Regions from separate parts of the Homo sapiens genome. Here region 1 is linked to region 2. Evidence: promoter capture Hi-C in human tissues and cell types (Jung and others, 2019). All regions are on one chromosome and are shown on one strand. The core of a region is centred on a gene start or on the middle of the fragment in contact, and the rest is flanking DNA. Distances in the headings are between cores, read along the strand shown.

Region 1 (5,804 bases), core at 1,404-3,903, 590 kb before region 2:
AAATAAAAAAGATAAGAGAGAACTATGAATGATTGTATGTCAACAAATGGATGATCTACATGCAATAGACAAATACTACAAAAACACAATCTACCAAGGTTGAATCATGAAGAAATGGAAAATCTGAAGCCTATAACTCATCAGGTGATTGAATCAGTAATCAAAAACTTCCCAACCAAGAAAAGCCCAGGACTAGGTGAATTTACTGGTATATTCTACCAACATTTAGGGAAGAATTAACATCAATCCTTCTCAAACTGTTCCAATAAATTGAAGAGGAGGTAACACTTCCAAACTCACTCTACAAGGCCAGCATTGTCTGATACCAAAGCCAAAGACACTGCAATAAAAGAACACTAGCAAACAATATCCCTTATAATATTGATTCAAAAATTCTCAACAAAATACTAGCAAACCAAACACAACAGTGCATTAAAAGATTATCCACCAGGAATAGGTGGGATATATTCCTGGAGAGCAAAGATGGTTCAACATCAATGGTACTGATAGTTCAACACCATTCAACAAAGATGGTTTCAATGCACAAAATCAATCAGTGCAGTACACCACATTGATAGAATAAAGGAAAAATATCAATTATTTCAGAAAATACATTTGACAAAATTCATAAAACACTTCCCTTAATCAATACCTCTAAACTCTATCACATCATAAACTATGCATATACTTTCAACCCCAAAGCATCCTAAAACAACTCCTATTTAAAAATACACTTATATCCATGCTACTCACAAATATACATCCCAAGTATATGCAAGAACCCTAGAAATAAAGAATTAAAATTTCTGAAACCCACATATACATGATATTATTCTATTCTGCTGAGCAGTCTAGGAAGAAAAGAATAAAAAATAAATAAATAAGAAGGAAATAGCCCTCGTGTGCCCCACTGAGGGGGAGGGGTGGGCCGGAGGTGTGGGTGGAGGGTTTGCAGTTCCATTGCAGCAAGGGCTCCTGTGTCCCTGTGCAGAAATGTCACATGGAGTCCTGTCATGTCACATGAGAGCGCAGCACACAGACACTCACAAAGAGAGGGGAAATACACGGTGCCTGGCTGTCTGCCGCCCCCGGCGCCTCCCCCAGCCGCCCTGGCCAGGCCCTTTGTGCACTGCTCCCACTCCCTGGCCCCATACCCTCCCCACCACTGGGTGCCTAAACTTGGCTCAGGCTGCTCAGTAAAGTACAGAACTCGAGTCCCACTGGAACAGAAGATGAACTCAACTGAATTCAGTGAAGATGTAGAAGAACTTCTAAGAAGTGAGAGTGGAGACAGGCCAAAGTTGCTGCTCTAGGCAGCTCCATGAATTCCAGGACTTCTGAGAAACACCCTCTGGAAAGCATCTTCACTGCCCTCCAGGACTTGACTGGTCAGCAATGGCCAGCCAGAGTCCGTCCCCAGCATAGAGAGGAGGCAGCTGATCCCAGAGGTGCTCCTAGCACGAATGTGGAACCTGAGAAAATCTAGCCCTGCCAAGGCAATGGAGAGCAGGCCAGCAGGGCAGGAGCTCAGGCTCTGTGTGGCCAGGCAAGGAGGAGCTCTGCAACCATGCCACCACCCCTTACTACAAAAAGCCTATGTATGGCACCTCACACAAGTTCATGGAGAAGAAGAACCGTCCCTCAGGGGACCTGCTAAACATATATGAGCTCTTCCAGAAGGTAAATGCCAGCAACAGACCCTCGTCACTTAGGCTCCTGAATGAGCCACAGAAGTGGGACTATGGCAGCACTGGGGTGGCCACCAACAGTGACCCTAACATCTACTTCCTGATCCAGAAGATATTCTACATGTTCAACACCCTCAAGTCTAACAGGTCCCAGCTGCACAGCACAATGGACATACTCTCCCTGAAGGTGAACCCCACTGAGATGGTGGCCAAATTCCAGCTGCCCCCACCACCGCATAGCAGCTCATGGGCCGCAGAGCTCAAGCAGATGGTGGACCAGAGCCTGTCGGGTGGGGTCTTGGCAGGCTGCCCACTGGTGCAGCTCTTCCCCAAGCTCTTCAGCTGCAGTTGACTTCTCCCGAGGCTGCAGTGCCTGTAGCTTTGAGGCCAAGCGTAAGTTGGAGTCACTGCACCTGCAGCTCATCCACAACTACGTGGAGGTCTACTACCCCTCGGTGAAGGACATGGCCGTGTGACAGGCCGAGTGCTTGCCCCAGCTGAATAACTTCTTCAGCCACTTCTGGGCCCAGAGGGAGATGGAGAACAGCCAGCCCGGTGGCCAGGCTGCCAGCTTCTTTGAGGCCGAGCAGTGGACCCCGGCCACTTCCTGGACCACAAAGACGAGGAGGACGGCCTGTCTCTGGACCGGAGCAGCACCATGGCCTCAGACCACGTGGTGGACATGCAGGACCTCACCGAGTTCCTGGATGAAGCCTCTTCGCCCAGCGAATATGCTGTCTTCCTCCTCCACTGGCTCTTCCCTGAGCTCTTTGACCACTGCAAGCTGGGCGAGTACTACAGCTGCTATGGGGATGGCAGCAAGCAGGAGCTGGAGCCGCAGAGGCTGCAGATCATCTGCAACTACACAGAGGTCTACTTCTCCCATATGCAGGAGGAGGAGGCCTGGCTGCAGCAGTGTGCCCAGCGCATCAACGACAAGCTCCAGGGCCTGAGGCTGGATGCGGGCAGTGAAGACGAGCCCCCCACGTGATGACTGCTACAACTCCTCCAGCCTCCCGATGACATCTCAGTAATCAGGGTGGAGGATAGCTCCAAGGGCGAGCAGCGCCGCTCCAAGAAGATCTGGCTGGTACTCATCAACCTGGACAAATTGGAGATCCCCCAGCCCAATTTGGAGGTGCCTGGCACCGACTGCCTGCTCAGCAAGGAGCATCTGCACAGCATCTATGAGAGCAGCCTGTCCATTGGCAACTTCGCCTTGCACCTGCTGGTGCCCCTGTTCCCCAAGCTCTTCACCCATGAGAACCTGCACAAGCAGTACAGCTCCAGCGGTTCCCTGGGCAAGAAGCAGCTGGACCTGTCCTGCATCAAGCTCATTCGCCAGTATGTGTGTCTGCTCTACCTCCATGCCAAAAACGACCGCTTCTGGACCCTGGAGTTCATGGGCAACCTGCGCCGGGACACGAGCAGAGGCGCTCCTACCAGCAGCAGTGCAAGGTCCACGTGCTGGCCCCCAGTGCAGAGACATGAGGAGCTATGCAATCAACCCTGAGAGGTTTGAGGAGGAGTTTGAGGGTCCCCCGCTGCCCCCAAGAGGAGCAGGAAGGACTTTTGCAAGATCCCCTTGGACAAGGTGGTGGTCCCTCGCCCAGCTTCCCGGTGCCCTCTCCCTACCTGCTGTCCGACAAGGAGGTGCGCGAGATCATGCAGCAGAGCCTCTCCGTGGGCAACTTGGCTGCAGGGCTCCTCCACTGCCAAGAACCTCCCGCTGCAGTACAATCATTCCCGGGCTTGCAACAAGAAGCAGCTGGACCCTACGCAGCTGTGGCTCATCTGCAGACTTTTTAGTACACTTTTAGTGTGCTCACTTTTAGTACCTTTTAGTTCCCTTTTTTTGGTTGAAAGTGAGACATGATACACTGGGCAAAAGGAACAGAGGTAAAGAGGTCTTTTGTGTAAGGCTCTTGTGTTTATCTGGCTGGTAGTTAGACTGTCTTCACTGTTTGGTGTTGCTGTAGGTGTCAGAGGCAAAATGTACTCAGGTGTCCTTGTTAGTATCTCCCCGCTTGTCTTTGAGTTTCCCTAGAGACTCCTTCTTAAATAAGTGCTGAGACAGTCAATTCCTTCCATTATAATTCCCTTATTATACAAAAGTCCTACTGATGTGGTGAGGAGGCACTTATGTGGGAGAGGAAATGTTCGATAATCCTGTAATTAGGTTCCAGGCACAGTGCACAGTGAGCCTATGCTCCTAGGCTGTGACCTGCACATGTGCTTCTCAGTAGCCCGTGTCCCTGGTGGGACAGGAAGGCACAGGGAACTGGAGTTTGACACTTCTCTTTCCGCAACTCAGTTAGACTCTGATAAAACCCCAATACATTAGGCTCTGGTAAAAATATTTTCTGTTAAGGATAGGTTTTTGCAAAGTAGAACTAATGTTCTGCTTTTATTTCAAAATGGTTACTTTTCCCATCGTCCTGCCAAAATCAGGAGGGGGTTTTTCTCTGATCTACACCCTGAGAATCTGGTAAGGCTACTGAAGGTAAAACTCCTGAAAGTTGGGGCTCTCCTAAGACTGGACATGGAGTTTTTAACTGTCAAGCTCATCCACATTGAACCCTCAGCACTTTGTCAATTACAGTTTAGGTTTTTCTACCCTGGGATTGGCTCCAATAGCCAGCTTTTACATCTGAGCTTCCCTTCAGATTAACCGTGATTCTCTGTATCTGCCTGTCTCCAGTTTTGAGGGTAGTAATCTGCCCTGTGACCTCAATTCTCTGACAGATCTAAGAAGAGTTGTTGACTTTCAGTTTGTTCAGCTTTTTTTTTTCTTGTTTTGAGAATGGGAGTGATGACTTCCAAGCTTCTTATACTCCAGACTGGAAACTGGAAGTCTTTAATTGATCTTGGTTCATTTCATTTCACTCCCATAGCTTGTCTGGGGATGACTTTGGCAACAAAAGCAGCAGCCCATGCCCGTGCACCATCTGGGAGAACAGGGGGGCCCTGATGATGACTCTAGGGCCCTCCATGCCCTACTCGTCTCTCTCTTCAGGAGTGGATATCTGAGGCTCACTTTGGGGACAGGTCAGAGTAAGCCTCCCTCAGGTGTCTGAGGCTTGGATAAAAGGCATCTTGGGTGCAGTCTGTGGGTGTGGAAAGAACAGTGATTGAGCTCTCTCAAGAGAGATCTCAGTTTGAATTTCTGTTCCACTACATACTACCTATGATATCTTTAAAAAGCCACTCAACCCTGGCCGGGTGTGGTGGCTCACGCCTGTATTCCCAGCACTTTGGGAGGCTGAGGCGGGTGGATCACGAGGTCAGGAGAGTGAGACCATCCTGGCTAACATGGTGAAACCCCGTCTCTACTAAAAATTTAAAAAATTAGCTGGGCATGGTGGCGGGTGCCTGTAGTCCCAGCTACTCGGGAGAATGAGGCGGGAGAATGAGGCAGTAGAACGGTGTGAATCCGGGAGGTGGAGTTTGCGATGAGCGGAGATTGCGCCACTGCACTCCAGCCTGGGCGACAGAGCGAGACTCCATCTAAAAAAAAAAAAAACCTACTCAACCCTAATAGGCTGCAGTTTATCTTTAAAAATAAACTAAACCAGGATAAGGATACTGAGCACTTACATTGGTTTCAAGAAACAGGGAAACTAACTGTGCAGGAACTGAGATTTGTTTGATCTGTCGCGTGGACTAGGTATGTATCCCCACCCTTTGGTTTAGAGGCCTGAGAGCATCCAGGAGGACAGGAAATCACCTAACCCCTGGCATAAGGTGTATAACAGGCAGGCCCTCAGGACACAGCCAGCCTGTGGCTGCCACAAAGGAGAATAGTGGCTCTGGGGACAGTGGAGTGGCTAATACTCTAAACAGAACTGCCCAAGCTCCCCTGACCTTCTGGAGAACATGCGTGGAGCACATGCTGTCTTGGTAACTCACTGACCTCTCAGAGTCCTGAGCAGCCCTGCTCTGAGACCCCATAACTGAGCTTACCACCAGGGGAGGGAACACTTTCTGTGGAGACCGCTGAGCTCTAAGGCTGGACACTAGTAGTGGACATATTACTAGGCATGGCAGTACCTCAGTGGTGGAGCTCTGGTCAGAGGCAGGGACTGCTGGAAATACCCCTACAGGAGTGGATACTGG
Region 2 (6,016 bases), core at 3,150-5,649:
AGGATGATTGAGATACACAAGTGCCCAGTCGCCAGGCCCTACAGGAAGAAACAGCACCAGGGCTCGATGTGGGAGTTTCAGACATTTTTAAAAGTGTAAGGGTCCCTAAAGATTCCTTCATGACCCCCTGCCCCATATTCTAAAAGTGGGGAAAGAGAGGCCCAGCGGGGAGAGAATTGCCCAACAATTAGTGACAACAGTGTAGCCACATGGTCATCATCTTTGGATGCCTATAGCTGCCTCTCCCCAACTGTCAGACCCATCTGTGCTTCAGGTATTCACAGGGCCCCAGCTCCCACCCAAGCCAGGCTTCCTCATACCAACAGCAGACCACTGCCACCACCCAGCCCCCTGAAAGGCCCTTGGGTCTCCCAGAGCCTCCTTGCTCCCAACAGCCTTCTGTTCAGAAATGGACACAACAATGTTCTCAGGGGTTATCAGACGAATGGGAGAATCCCACACTTGCTTTAACCAAGACCAGGACTTTTCCTGCTCTGGAAGCAAACAATCAAAGAGGCTGGGCCTCACCCCCAGTAACTCTGCAGAGGAACCTCCTGGAGGGTCCTCTGCCAATCACCCTATTGCCCCCACTTCCTGCAGCTGCCCAGGTGCTGGGAACAGGGCTCAGCAAGTCCAGAAGGCAGCAGGCAGGGGAATTTTAGAGACACCCAAGCTTGAAGGGCAGGTGGGACTTCTAAGACAAAGGGTGAATGTGGGCACAGGAGAGGTAGGGCAGTCCCAAGCCAGGCTGTAGGGGCCTGAGACAATGCTTAGGGCAGCCCTTGGGAGGTGGCAATGGAAGCCACTTGAGACTGAGCAGGGACAAGGATAAGAACGGGGAGAAGCTGCAGGTGCAGCAGCAAGGAGACAGAGACCTGAGTGAGGCATGAGATTCAGTCCGCAGAAGACCTACGAAGCACTTGCTGCGTGTTGGGTGCTGTGCCCAGTCCAACACCCAATTCCACCCACGTGCACCTCTCAGACAAGGACAATGGTGCTCCAGAGCTTGACACTATGACACCAAGGTGGCACACCAAGGCAGTGAGGGTGTCCAGACCTCCTCTCTGAGCCTGAGCTCAGGTGGAGTCAAGACTGTTCTCAGACCTCCCCCATTACCCTCCCCTGACCATGAGGACCACATGGGCACCTAGCCTTAGCCCACCTAGCTACAGTCCCTGCCTGTGCCCTGAAGGCAGGAGCTGCCACCTCAGCACACCTGTCCTCTTAAAGCTACAGCTAAGAACACAGAACAAAGTGTCTCACGGCCACGCAGGACCAGGAACACCAGGTTGCTGACCAAAGCCCATCTAATTCTCTTCCCCACCATTCCAGGGAGAGGAAGGGAAAGGGCACAGTGGGAACGGGGACAGATATGGTCTTAACTGAGTCAGGCTCAAGAAATCACTAGCAGAATGATTAGGCAAAATCAACCAGGGGGCACCCACCTCACTTGTGGTCTCAGCCAGCACCGTGCTATGTTGTCAGCAGGACACAGACACTTCCCCCATCCCATGAGAAAGGCAACAGGACTGGCACTGTCTCCCATTCATCACCACAAGACCCTCCTCAGCTCTGATCAGAAACCCACACACTGGGACCAGCAGGCCAGCGTCCTTCCCTCAACGATCCTATTATCTACAAATGCAGGGCAGAAGTACAAGCAACTCCATTTGGAGCACAATTTATTAGTAACTAAATGCACTTTAGTTCAAGAAATAAAGTTTTCTAAAGAATTAAGGCGGTACACCGCTCTACAGGAGAAAAAAAACCCCACAATTATTGACTCCTTAAATCTTGTGGTTTTTTTTAAATGAAGAGTTAATATTTTCAACTATAATACTGGCCATAATTAAATAGGTTAGCAAGAGCCTGTGTTGGCATGGGTGTGAGGAACACGCATGCTGTTGATGGGGGGTGAACTGGTACAAACTTTCTGGCAACATCTACTGAAACTGAAACGCTGATGCACATTCCTCTAGACTCTGCTAGAGACCGAGCAGAAACATTCTTATCCCACCTTACAAAGGAGAACTAGATTCAGAACAGAGCAGTAATTTGTCCAAGGCCATGTGGCCAGTACATGGAAGCCAGGTGGTGACAAAAAACAAGCAAGCAGACGCCTAAAGAGTACCCACAGAAACAGGTATACCCTCTTCCTGATTCTGCTAGGGACTCACCCTCCAGATACATGCCACGAAAATGCCAAGATTCTTCACTGTGCCAAAACGTTTGTGTCAGAATAGCAAAGACCTGACAAATGAAGGGCACCAAAGCGGGGACAAGTTAAGTCAGCGACAATTCCTTCTCACAGAGGACACTGCCAAACCCAAGCTGTGGACAGAGACAGGGACTGTAGAGGCTGCCCAGGAGCGGCTCACGATGCACTTGGTAGGAGGAAGAGGGCTGCTTCACTGTGTGCAGAGGGAAAAGCGCCCTAACAGATAGTGCTGCCTGCTGGAGAGGGTGAGCCCCGCTACAGGAGACCAGAAACTGGCCGAGTCCACTCCCACTCCATATTCTCAGAGCCCCCTGCCTCCCTATCACACGCCCCACCCTAAGATGGGGACTCTTGCAAGAGCAGCTGCATCTCACCCCTCTTGTAGCTCCAGCGCCACTGGAGCATGCATTGCAGAAGGTGCCAATACCTGCTGACAGACAACAGAATCGAGTCCTGAGGGCGATGGGGGAGGACCCAGCTCCTGCTGGCCCAGGGTCAGCCATTGACTGGTACTAACTGAGCACCTGCTCTGCCCAGACATCCAAGCATCTGCTTGGATTCATTCTCTGCTCTCCACAGACGGGTCTCCTCAGACACGGGGGAGGCAAGGAAGGCTGCAAATGATTTAGGCACCTGTCTGGGCTGACTGGGAGCAGAGGTGCCAGGTGATAAGCCTGGAAACCAAGAGCCAAGGGCTCACCAGGACACACTCAAGTGGGGGAAGGGAGCACACCACCAAGCTATACTCCTGACCGCACACCAGTCCTTTCCAAATACATGACCCTCACAACAATCCTTTCTGGGCACGCAGTACTGCACTCCCATTTTGCAGAGGGGGAAACTAAGACTCACGGAGGGCCTCTACCCAAAGCCACATCACTAGCAAGGGGCACAGCCTGGATCCAAACCCTGGTGTATCCTCCCAGAAAGCAATTCCTGCAAACAACGCTATGGAGTCAGGGAACGGGAGAAGAGAAGCTGGGGAAGGACTGTCCAAGACTCCCGCTGCCCTGCCGCCTGGAGACCCTCGACCAGCCTGGTGGTCTAACCTACTCTCCCCCCAGTGGGAATGACACAGACCACTGAGGTCTCCGTCCAAGAGGAACACAGCAAGCCACAGCGAGGGGAAGGGCCCGAGAAGCGGGGCTGGACAGGAAGTGGGCCAGGGAAGTCATGCTAGCTGGTGGGAGCGCAATCCCGGCCATGAGGACACAGCGCTGGGCCTGGGGCAAGGGTACTGGGGGACCCATGCCAGGGGCAACCTCCACGTGCAACCCCGAGCCCCTACTCACTTAGGCCGCTGTCCACGACCTTTCCCCACCTCGGAGGCACTCATGAAAGAAGCAGAAACGCTCCGAAAGTAGCTGCGCCCAGAGAGGGGAAGTGCTTTCTCTGAAGGTGACAGAGCCGCAGCCACCCAGACCCAGGCCCACCCTCGGCCTCTCCCAGCGGGTCACCAGCATCCGTGGCCTCAGCTCCCGGCTCAGCCACTGCCCTCCCAACCCCACCCCACACTCAGACACACCCGGAACAGCGACCACCGCAAAGCATCAGCCCTTACGAAGCCCCGCCCCGCCGGGGCCGCCCAGGTCCGCACAGAAGCAGGCGGGCAGCTGCAGGAGGCGACAAGGCGCCCGGACCCCTGCATTAGCGGCGTCTGCAACGGCCGCGGCACCGGCCTGCTAGCCAAGGCCGGGCCCACTCCCACATACTGCCCGTGCCCCCTCCGCCCCGGCGGCCCACCCCTGCCGGCCCCCGCTTGGCAAGCTGACCTTGGCCGCCCTGGTGCCAGGGACGACGCCCACAGGCCCCGGCGCCGGGCGGGGGTCGCAGGGCAGGGCGGCTCGGCTCACCTCCTTGAGCTGCTCCATCTCGCTGCGGATAGCCTCATAGTCCACCTCGAGCTCCTCGAACTGCAGCTTGAGCTGGTGCTTCTCCTCGAGCACCGCCAGCCCGTACTCGGCCGCCTGGATCTTCTCACGCGTGGTCTCGGCCAGCTCGTGGGACAGCCGCTTCACCTCGGCGCGCAGCCACTCCGGCTGCGCCTCCATCACCAGCCGCGCGTACTCCTCCTCCTCCGACGGCGCCGACATGGTGGCCGAGGGCTGAGCCGGCTCCCACTGAGGCTCTCGCAGGCCGGGCCCTCCTCAGCCGCCGCCGCTGCCGCCGCCGCCGCCGCCCTGCCCCGACGGCCGCCCGCCCGCCCGCGCCGCCGCACGGCTCCTCCCCTCCGGCGCGCGGGGCCCGCTGGGGGCTGGAGTCCTGCCTGCGCTCCGACCACAAGGTCCATCATGCCCGGCGCCCGCCCGGCCCCCGGCTATGATTGGCCCATGCTCTGTGAGGGGCGGGCCCTCGGGCGCAGCCACTGACGCCAATGTGGCCCAGGGGGCTGTGGGGACAGTAGTCCCGCTAGCGCACCGACTACAAAACCCGTCCAGCCCCGCGCCCACCCGTCCCCGTCCGTGATTGGCCTGCGCCGCCAGCGTCGAGCCGGATGTACCGGCGCCTTGCAGTCCCCTGGACGGCGGTCGAGTGGGCGCGGCCCCGCGGCCTTCCCCACACTCAGAGCCGGGGACACTGCTCGGTCGCCGGGCCTCGCGCTCCCCTGTGCCTCTGGCAGCCGGCGGCCACGCGGGGTGGCAAGACGGCTGCCGGGAGAACCCCCAGGGGGAGGCGGGTGCGGGGCGGCAGGACTGGGCTCCCGACCGTGGGACGAACAACGCGGACAGAGCCCGGGAGGCCACGAGCTAGAAGCGCATCCGAGAGCGCGGGTGAACGGCTGCTGCTGGAAACCCGTGGACGGTGTGACGCATGCTCTGTGCAGACGTCTGGGGGCGGGAGGAGGACGGGCCAGCAGGGGGCGCCCAGGGGCCAGCGGGAACCTCAGCACCGCCCCTCAGTCCTTCAAGGTCTATTTCTTGGGAATAAAGACATTTCCATTAATACAGGGTCATAAACGTGGTAAATATAATTGTTGTCTCCGCATCTATTTTTAGGCCTGACTTAAGTTGTTTGAAAGCCAGTCGTACCCTTCGCCTTGGCGTAGGTAACACTTCTCCGTATATGGTGGTGTGTGAGATAACTCGTTTATTCTTTATCTCATTGACCTAAAGCGCAACACACCCCACAGCCGCTGACCGCCATAGCACCTAATGGCCAGTATCAGTGCAGATGAGTTCACCCTTCCCTCGTATTTTCTTTAGCCAGTCCACAGGCCCCAAGGGAAATCCTAAAGGATGATTTCCATGGACCCTAGCACAGCCATAGTCCCTTCCTTCCCACCGTCTCTCACTGCCCCTCTCCATCTGCTTGTCCGCCTCTCTTAGGCATCCCTAACCTCTCCGGAACCTAAGAATAATAAATTCCTTCTGTTTTGTACCTTTTAATTTTACTTTCTCATTGTATCTCACCTGAACCCCACACCCATTCGGTTCTCCTAGAGAGTGGCTATCTTGGCTTATGGTCACTCTCCCTCAAGACCAAATTAGAAAGAAGCCATGACAGCAGAAATCACAGCACACAGGGTACTGACACTATCTAATGCACAGTCCACACTCTAATTGCACGAGGGCCCAACACCATACTGGAGAGTTTCAGTATTGTTTTTGTGGTCCAGGATCCAGTTGCATTCAGTCGTCAGGTTTCCTGAGTCTCCTTTGATTGACCTTTCTGAGGAGTGCAGTGCACACTGGTATATGCTCATGGGGTGATGAGGTGATGCGTTTCTGGCAGGACTGTCACTGAGGTGTTGCTGAGTTTTCAGAGCACCAGCCGGGAGGTATGTGATGTCGATTTGCA

What was found. The method cuts DNA at HindIII sites, captures the fragments that hold promoters and counts their contacts. A contact is called where the count stands out against the background at its distance.
Region 1: a fragment that was not itself captured here is called in contact with the fragment with the promoter of BICD2 in region 2 in 1 of the 25 tissues and cell types used here (lymphoblastoid cells).

Annotation. Positions count from the first base shown.
Region 1 is chr9:92,170,009-92,175,812 of GRCh38, forward strand. It overlaps the pseudogene BEND3P2. Among named protein-coding and RNA genes, the nearest start is that of LINC00475, 31 kb to the left of the region's middle. RefSeq lists a silencer at 3,473-3,572. The HindIII fragment of the contact is 6,217 bases long and covers 1-5,762 here.
Region 2 is chr9:92,760,434-92,766,449 of GRCh38, forward strand. BICD2 (BICD cargo adaptor 2) reads right to left here and starts at 4,400. Exons shown (of 7, transcript NM_001003800.2): 1 at 4,072-4,400. The coding sequence starts at 4,311. RefSeq lists an enhancer at 2,368-2,527 and silencers at 4,351-5,090, 5,943-5,992. The HindIII fragment of the contact is 19,809 bases long and covers 1-6,016 here.